Linked DNA regions of Homo sapiens: region 1 is linked to region 2. Evidence: promoter capture Hi-C in human tissues and cell types (Jung and others, 2019). All regions are on one chromosome and are shown on one strand. The core of a region is centred on a gene start or on the middle of the fragment in contact, and the rest is flanking DNA. Distances in the headings are between cores, read along the strand shown.

Region 1 (4,164 bases), core at 950-3,449, 180 kb after region 2:
AGAGCAGCCCCGAGGGCTGCTGGTTGTCCATTTTTATGGTTATTTGTCGATGATATGCTAAACAAGGGGTGGATTTTTCATGCCTCCCCTTTTTAAACCATACAGGGTAACTTCCTGACTTTGCCATGGCATTTGTGAACTGTCATGGCGCTGGTGGGAGCACAGCAGTGACGACGACCAGAGGTCACTCTCGTGGCCATTTTGGTTTTGGTGGGTTTTGGCCGGCTCCTTTACTGCAACTGTTTTATCATCAAGGTCTTTATGACCTGTATTTTGTGCTGACCTCCTATCTCATCCCGTGACTTAGAATGCCTTAATCATCTGGGAATGCAGGCCAGTAGGTTTTAGCCTCATTTTACCCAGCCTGTTTAAGATGGAGTTGCTCTGGTTCATACGCCTCTGACATTTCCCCCCGTCTAAGAGAACCCTTAATCCTAAGGGTTGCAGAGGGACGAAGATCCATCTTCTATAACTTCTTCAGGCTAAATAGGGCAATGATATTCCTGCCTGCCTATGAGGGTCTCTTGCATTCAGGGTAAAAAGGAGCTCAGTCAGAAAGCATCAGTATGGTAAGGTTCATTCATAACTCAAGTTTCAACAAAAGGTGGTATCTGGAAAATTAGTAAGAAAACGTTCAGTAAGCTTGTCCTGTATTCCTACACAAAAAGTATAACAGCAATATATTCCACAAGAGTAAAGCAAAATAGGCTGGGTACAGTGGCTCACACCTGTAATCCAGCACTTTGGGAGGCCGAGGCAGGTGGATTACCTGAGGTCAGGAGTTCGAGGCCAGCCTGGCCAACATGGTGAAACCCTATCTCTACTAAAAATATAAAAGTCAGCTGGGCGTTGTGATGTGTGCCTGTAATTCTAGCTACTTGGGAGGCTGAGGCAGGAGAATCACTTGAACCCAGGAGGCGGAGGCTGCAGTGAGCCAAGATGGTGTCACTGCAGTCCAGCCTGGGCGACAGAACAAGACTCTGTCTCAAAAAGAAAGAAAGAAAAAAAAAAGAGTAAAGCAAAATAAGTAAAGTTATTCCAAATAAACTAAATTAGAAGACTTTTCATGAACCAGGCAACCACTGGAACTAAGCTGATATCGGGTTGTTAGCTGATTGTAATGTGCCCAGAATCAGAATACTGATCCAGATTTTTAAATTACCCATCCCTCTTATTTCTTCTGAGCAACAATTAGAGATTACTGGTTGGTTTACAAGAATACGCAGGGTTAGCCTAAATTGCAGAAACAAACTTAAAAACAATTAATGAGACCAGAATTTAATAACAAGTGTACCATAGTTTTTGAAACATAGTATTTCTCTCTCCAGTTTCCCATTTTTACTAAAGACAAATTATGGTAAGACTGACTTGCTTTATTATACTTGGCCTGATTGTTTGTATAAAGTGCAGCAAGAATAATAATTTTTCACATAGGCTTTTTAATTGGCTTTGATGGAACTCTGTTTCATAAGGAATCTCAGATAAGACTTTTTTAAAAGCCAAGCCCTGACATGGGTTTGTACCCTTAAATACCTATAACTTGGGTAAATTTCTCTCCTTTTGAGGTCCCAAGATAACTTGGGGCTCCTGGACAGGTGAGAAAGTGACATTCTTTACTTACCATAGGTCAGAAACCCTGTACAGGCACTGTGTAGGCAAGGTATGAGGCCAGTTCCCCAAAGGGCTTTTATTGGCTCTACAAGTCAAGTTTGATTCCTTAAAGAAAAGCACACCATTTCAGTCAAAGCCTTGGTAAAATAACCACTTTCTCCAATTGTATTCTGTTACAAAAGAAAACAGATTCTTATTGCACTTATGCAAATAATTACATTGCCATAAGTTAAGAATACTCACAACTAGTTTCCAAATTCTGGAGAAATCTGATATAGAGAAACAAATATGTTCCAAATTTCGTTCACAGCAGTATACTTTACTCAATTGCTATGAACTGTAAATAGCTCAAATGAAAAGTTTCCTTGACTCTGAAAAACAAAACAAAGGATCAGCAACATTTTAATCAAAGATTACTTCAGTTTTCTATTGGTTCAGTTGATTCAATTAACTCATGTTTCATTTGATATTCATGAACATTCTAGCTCTTCATGAGTTCTGAAAGTTGTTTCCTCTATTCTAATGTTACAATTTCCAAAGTTATTAGAAACCTGCATTTAAGAACACCTGCTAGAGTTCTATAGCTGATTATAAATCATCTTCTAAACAGGATTAAAACAAGACAACAATTGTCTGTGGATGATAAAAAGTTTTAGGAGAGCCACTATTAAAGCCAGAAATGATAAGGAAATTTGGTTACTTCTGTGGCACACAATATTTTGCATAACAATTATAATTATTAATAACATACACTAAATCATATTAGAATTATAGGAGTTTCCCATAACTTTGGAACATATACCAATAATACAGTTATGTAAATATAATCCAAAGAAAGCAAAACACCATTTGACATTTGATAATGCTTCCTGTATGAATTTTTTTTTTTTTTGAGATGGAGTCTCGCTCTGTCACCCAGGCTGGATAGAGTGCAGTGGTGCAATCTCAGATCACTGCAACCTCCCCCTCCCAGGTTCAAGCGCTTCTCCTGCCTCAGCCTCGAGTAGCTGTGACTACAGGTGTGCGCCACCATGCCCGGCTAACTTTTGTATTTTTTGATAGAGATGGGGTTTCACCATGTTGGCCAGACTGGTCTCAAACTCCTAACCTCAGGTGATCCATCTGCCTCGACCTCCCTAAGTGCTGGGATTACAGGTTTGAGCCACTGTGCCCGGCCAACTTAGAATAATTATTTAACTCTTTAGCCAAAAAACCCCACATTTCCATGCCTTCTTATAATCTTTTACCAAAAGTACATTCTATTTTCCTTACTACACACCTTACATGTAAAACTGTCTCTTCAATAGTCTCAGTTACATGTTCCAATTTTAACTTTTAGCGACTTTTACTTTTGGTGAAAACCCTGGTTAGTAAGCAATTTTAATTATGTACTAGGTGTGGAGCCTAGCCTAGGACACACCAGGCAGAAGTGCAGATAAGAGCTGACTCTCCAGCACAGCTTAGGGGCGTGGCTAACTCCACATGTCCCCAGGCCTTATCTAGAATCTAATGGCTTTAAGGTAGGGTAAATTGAACAATTTTTAAAAGTCAAAGAAACAGTTTATGACCTCAAATCATTTAACAAACTTAATATCTGACCTGCATAATTAAGATTAACATTTTTATCAATTTTAAAGATGTGTTTATTTCCTAAAGATTACTAAAGTTACATGAACTAAAAGGCATTAGTTATTTTGCTTTCAAAATATTTGATTTAAATGTTTATTTTTGTTTAAGCTGATTAATCAGAGCTCTTTTATATAAATATTACACACGACACCTATATAGCTACACAGAAAGACAGATGATGATGATAACAGTGGTTGTAAGATTTTTCATTTGCCAGTTTTTAAGTTTCTTAATTGGATTACCGGCTTCAGGGTGGAGCCCTTGGAAGAACAGGGCCACGAAAGGGGTCTCTGGTGCCTCTTGTTTTTCCCAAGGAGTCCAGGCTGTTAGAGCTTGAATATCCACTTTTAATTAAACTTATTTTAACCATAGCACTCTTTAATAAAGTCCTTTTAGAAGTTTTTATGCCAAACGGCTGGTATTTCTGGCTTTTGAATTTTATCAAAGGTAACCTCCCAGGTGCTTAGAAAAAGGAAAATATAAGACAGTTCACAGAGGAGAAGAGAATAGACAAAGTCATGCAGATATTAAACCAGAAACGACTTACTTCCTAGGTGGGTAATTGAACCTGGACTGTTGCCACGGAAGTGCAAAAGCTGGCTGGGTGCGGTGGCTCATGCCTGTAATCCCATCAGTTTAGGAGGCTGAGGCAGGTGGATCACCTGAGGTCAGGAGTTCGAGACCAGCCTGCCCAATATGATGAAACCCCATCTCTACTAAAAATACAAAAATTAGCTGGGCGTAGTGGCACACACCTGTAATCCCAGCTACTTGGGAAGATGACGCAGGCAAATCACTTGAACTCGGGAGGCGGAGGTTGCAGTGAGCTGAGATCGCACCACTGCACTCCAGCCTGGGCGACAGAGCAAGACTCCATCTCAAAAAAAAAAAAAAAGAAAGTGCAAAAGCTTAGCTACTGAGCTA
Region 2 (3,998 bases), core at 535-3,034:
CTAATGAAATGGATAAAATAGAATAAAATTTGATGCCTCAAATAACAGCTAACATTTACTGGGGGCTTACCATGTATTAGGAACTATTCTGAAAGTTCAACACATGCTTAGAGGAGGTTAGCTTCAATTATCTGAAAAAATTCAATTATAAGAAACATTTCAATCCGCAAAGGCACTGGGTAAGGCATCATTGTGTTATTACAGTTTTCTGCATCCAGTCAAGGCTTGTACTTACCTATAGGGACAAAGGGGGAGTCTCTAGATTTCCTGATTAGTCGGGATAATTGGCCTTCATCCTCATCTGCTGACCACTGGTTATCTGAAGACATTTTTTTCTCTAGTAACAATAGGATATAAATGTGGTTGCCGTGAATCATTAAAAATAATTTGTTTTTCCTCTCCCATCATACTCTTGATTATGTGTTTTTTTGTTTTCATTTGTTTGATAAGCCTATCTGCTCAACTGAAACAATTGTCTTTCCTTCACACTTTTCACTACCGAATTTTTTCATTTTGCAGGGGAAGGGGATAAGAAAAAAATACATAGAGGAAATGATAATCAGATTTCATGAATACAGAGTAAAAACACAGATCATAATGCTGTTATTCAGTCTCCTTTCCACTGCTCAGCATTTGAGATCACTGGGAACCTCAGGACTTCTTCCACAAGCACTGTATTTGAAGAACACATTTTCTTTTTAAAGTATCATTTTAAAGAAGTATGGCAGTGCCAACATAGGCAAAAATACTTCCAGATTTACAGGTATTGGGAGAATGATCACTTCAACTCTGCAGAATGTGCAGGGCATTATAAAGTCATTCAGATATTTACCAAGCACCTACTGTGTGCCAGTTGCTATGCTAGACAATGGATTCCTTGTCTAGCCTGGCTTGTCTACATAGGATGAATGAAGAAACTTGCAAAAGCAACTATAATCACAACAGATTTAGCAGCGCCTGAGTCTGTTCCCTGTGCAGCTTATTGTGTTCACCCCAGAATTCAAATACAGCGGCTTCATCCTATGAATGAGACTTCATCAGAAAACTTAAGCGTAAGAAGCACAATACCTGTGGCACACCCCGCCACCTGCTGTCTGTCTCCTGTTGTTCCTTCAGCAAGAGGCTGTAGATCAGAACAGGTGTTTGTTGTAAGGCCAGGACACGATGTGCAATTTCCAACTAATTGATAATGGGAAAGCCCAGAAACACGCCCCAGGGGACTGGGGGAGTGGTCGGCTGGTATTGGCCAAGATTTCCAGCACCCTGCTAGAAACTCACCAGTAGCAGCCTGGGCCACAAACTAGGCTTTTGAAGCCAACATTAAGAAAAACATGAAGGCTTTGGAAGAAGATGCATTTGCTTAAGTCTGCCTTCACAAGGGAGCTCCTGACTTCCCTCTGTGACTGTTGAGTCTTAGTACCTGACTCCTGGGCCCAAAATTGAGGGGAAAGAGGGCACAGGGTCACAACACTGGGCTTGGAGGGGAAGGGGAGAAGATAGCCATCAGAGGCCAGGATTCTTGCCATCCTTCGGAAACACGCCCTAGCCAGAGGAGGTGCGCTCCCTGCAGTTGGAATCTCCGGCTGAGGCGATGAGAGCCCGCCGGGCTCACCTGGCGGTAAGGCCATCGCAGGTGCGCCTCCTGCAAAGCCTCGAGCTGCACACGCGCCCAGGGGAAAGACGTGACGTTGCTGCACCTGTGGCTAGTCCCTGCGCCTGTGTGTGAGACCTGAGTGGGGCTGTGGAGACCCGAGAGGCTGTGGCTCTTGAGGTGGGTCGGTGGTGGACGTGGCCTTTGCTTCTGTTCTGACCTTGTAGCCTTGGGGCCCCTTGAGACCTTGGAGAACACCTTGCTCACCGCCTCCCTCCGACTGCAGCCATGTGGACCTAGAGATGAGGGCAGAGGATCAGGTAGCGTTCATGGTTTTTCCCTTGTAACTTAATGTTTAAATAATTTCAGACTTATAGAAAAGTCCCCAGAATAGTACAAAGAACTGTGTGTCTGGTACCCGCATTTTCCTTTATTAACATGTTTCTTTCTTTAAAAAATATTTTTGGCGAACCACCTGACAGTAGCAGACTTATGCCTTTTCTTCCATATACTTTTGTATGCATTTGGGGCATTCTTTTATTATATAACCATAGTACAGTGTTCAAAATCAGAAACTTAACATTGATATAATTCTGTTTTTCAATCTAAAGATTTTATTCATATTCACCAGTTGTCCCAATTATGTCCTTAATAGCAAAAAAAAAAAAAAAAAAAAATTTCTGGTCTAGCATCCAATTAGGATCATATATTGCATTTAGTTGTCCTGTTTCTTTAGTCTCCTTTAGTCTGAAACACCTTCCTAATCATCTTTGTCTGTCTTGACCTTGATTTTTTTTTCTTTTTTTTTTTTTTTGAGATGGAGTTTCGCTCTTGTCACCCTGGCTGGAGTGTGATGGCGCAATCTTGGCTCACTGCAACCTCTGTCTCCTTGGTTCAAGCAATTCTCCTGCCTCAGCCTCCCGAGTAGCTAGGACTATAGAAGCGCCACACCACGCCCGGCTAATTTTTTTGTATTTTTAGTAGAGATTTTGTTTCACAATGTTGGTCGGGCTGGTCTCAAACCCCTGATCTCAGGTGATCCACCCACCTTGGCCTCCCAAAAGTGCTGAAATTACAGGTGTGAGCCACCGCGCCCAGCCGACCTTGATGTTTTGCCAGTTATTTTGTAGGATGCCTCTCAATCTAATCCTGTGTTCCCGTCCCCTCCCCCAACTCATGTTTTCTCACTAGATTGAGGTCATACATTTTGGGCAGAATATGACAAAAATGATGTTGTGCTCTTCTTAGTGTGAAATATCAGGAGACACAGAAAGTTGAATTGCCTGGTGGTAGTTAACTTTGATCCAGTGTGGTGCTGACAAATGTTTAACAACTCAACTGGCTCTGGAGGGGGAGATATTGCCCTGTTCTGTGGCATTTGCCATTGCCCCATTCTGTGTTGTAAATATTCCCACCATGCCCAATTTCTAAATAGAGTCTGTCATCACGGAACACAAAGTTGGGAAATGTCCCTTTCCTGGGTTGGTAGGAATGGGCTCTAGCACACCACTGCTTTCATCATGTGGATTAACGTGGTGTCTGCCTGGTTCTCCACTGTGGTTACTTTTTTTTCTCCCTTTTAATTAATAAGTAGTTTCTGAACAGGTACTTTAATATTATACAAATATCCTGTTATTTGTCAGACTTTTACCCATTAATTTCAGTGTCTGTTGATGATCCTTGCTTGAATCCATTAATTTTAGTTTGCTAAATGGTGGTTTTTCTAAATATATCACCTTAAAAAAAAACTTATGGCCGGGCGCGGTGGCTCATGCCTGTAATCCCAGCACTTTGGGAAGCCAAGCAAGGCAGGTGGATCACCTGAAGTCAAGAGTTCAAGACCAGCCGGGCTAACATGGTGAAACCTCATCTCTACTAAAAATACAAAAAAAATTAGCTGGGCGTGGTGGCAGGCGCCTGTAGTCCCAGCTACTCGGGAGGCTGAGGCAGGAGAATGGCATGAATCTGGGAGGCGGAGGTTGCACTGAGCTGAGATGGCACCACTGCACTCCAGCCTGGGTGACAGAATGAGACTCCATCTCAAAAAAAAAAAAAAAAAAAAAAAATTAGCTGGGCATGATGGTGCGTGCCTGTAATCCCAGCTACTTGGGGAGGCTGAGGCAGGAGAATTGCTTGAACTCAGGAGGTGGAGGTTGCAACGAGCCAAGATTGCGCCACTGCACTCAGTCTGGGTGACAGAGGGAAATTCCATCTCAAAAACAAACAACCATTTATTAGTAGGCATTCTAATGAGGAATAGCTTTTCTTTCTTCTCTATTTAATCTTTTATCAGTTTGGACTCTTGCATTCCTATTTTATTCAGTGGCTTATAATCCATCACTATGATTATTTTTATTTTATTTTATTTTAAAATAACTGGTTTTTGCTTTATTCTGTAGTTTACATG

The links. The method cuts DNA at HindIII sites, captures the fragments that hold promoters and counts their contacts. A contact is called where the count stands out against the background at its distance.
Region 1: a contact is called between a fragment that was not itself captured here and the fragment with the promoter of HIGD1C in region 2, in 1 of the 25 tissues and cell types used here (mesenchymal stem cells).

What each region holds. Positions count from the first base shown.
Region 1 is chr12:50,767,847-50,772,010 of GRCh38, reverse strand. The region is part of intron 1 of ATF1 (activating transcription factor 1); the gene reads right to left. Among named protein-coding and RNA genes, the nearest start is that of ATF1, 5.8 kb to the right of the region's middle. RefSeq lists enhancers at 2,103-2,603, 2,604-3,104. The HindIII fragment of the contact is 6,244 bases long and covers 1-4,164 here.
Region 2 is chr12:50,950,330-50,954,327 of GRCh38, reverse strand. HIGD1C (HIG1 hypoxia inducible domain family member 1C) reads right to left here and starts at 1,784. Exons shown (of 5, transcript NM_001109619.4): 1 at 1,613-1,784; 2 at 1,069-1,123; 3 at 236-337. The coding sequence starts at 329. It also overlaps a transcript of SLC11A2 not described here. RefSeq lists an enhancer at 1,202-1,702. The HindIII fragment of the contact is 13,572 bases long and covers 1-3,998 here.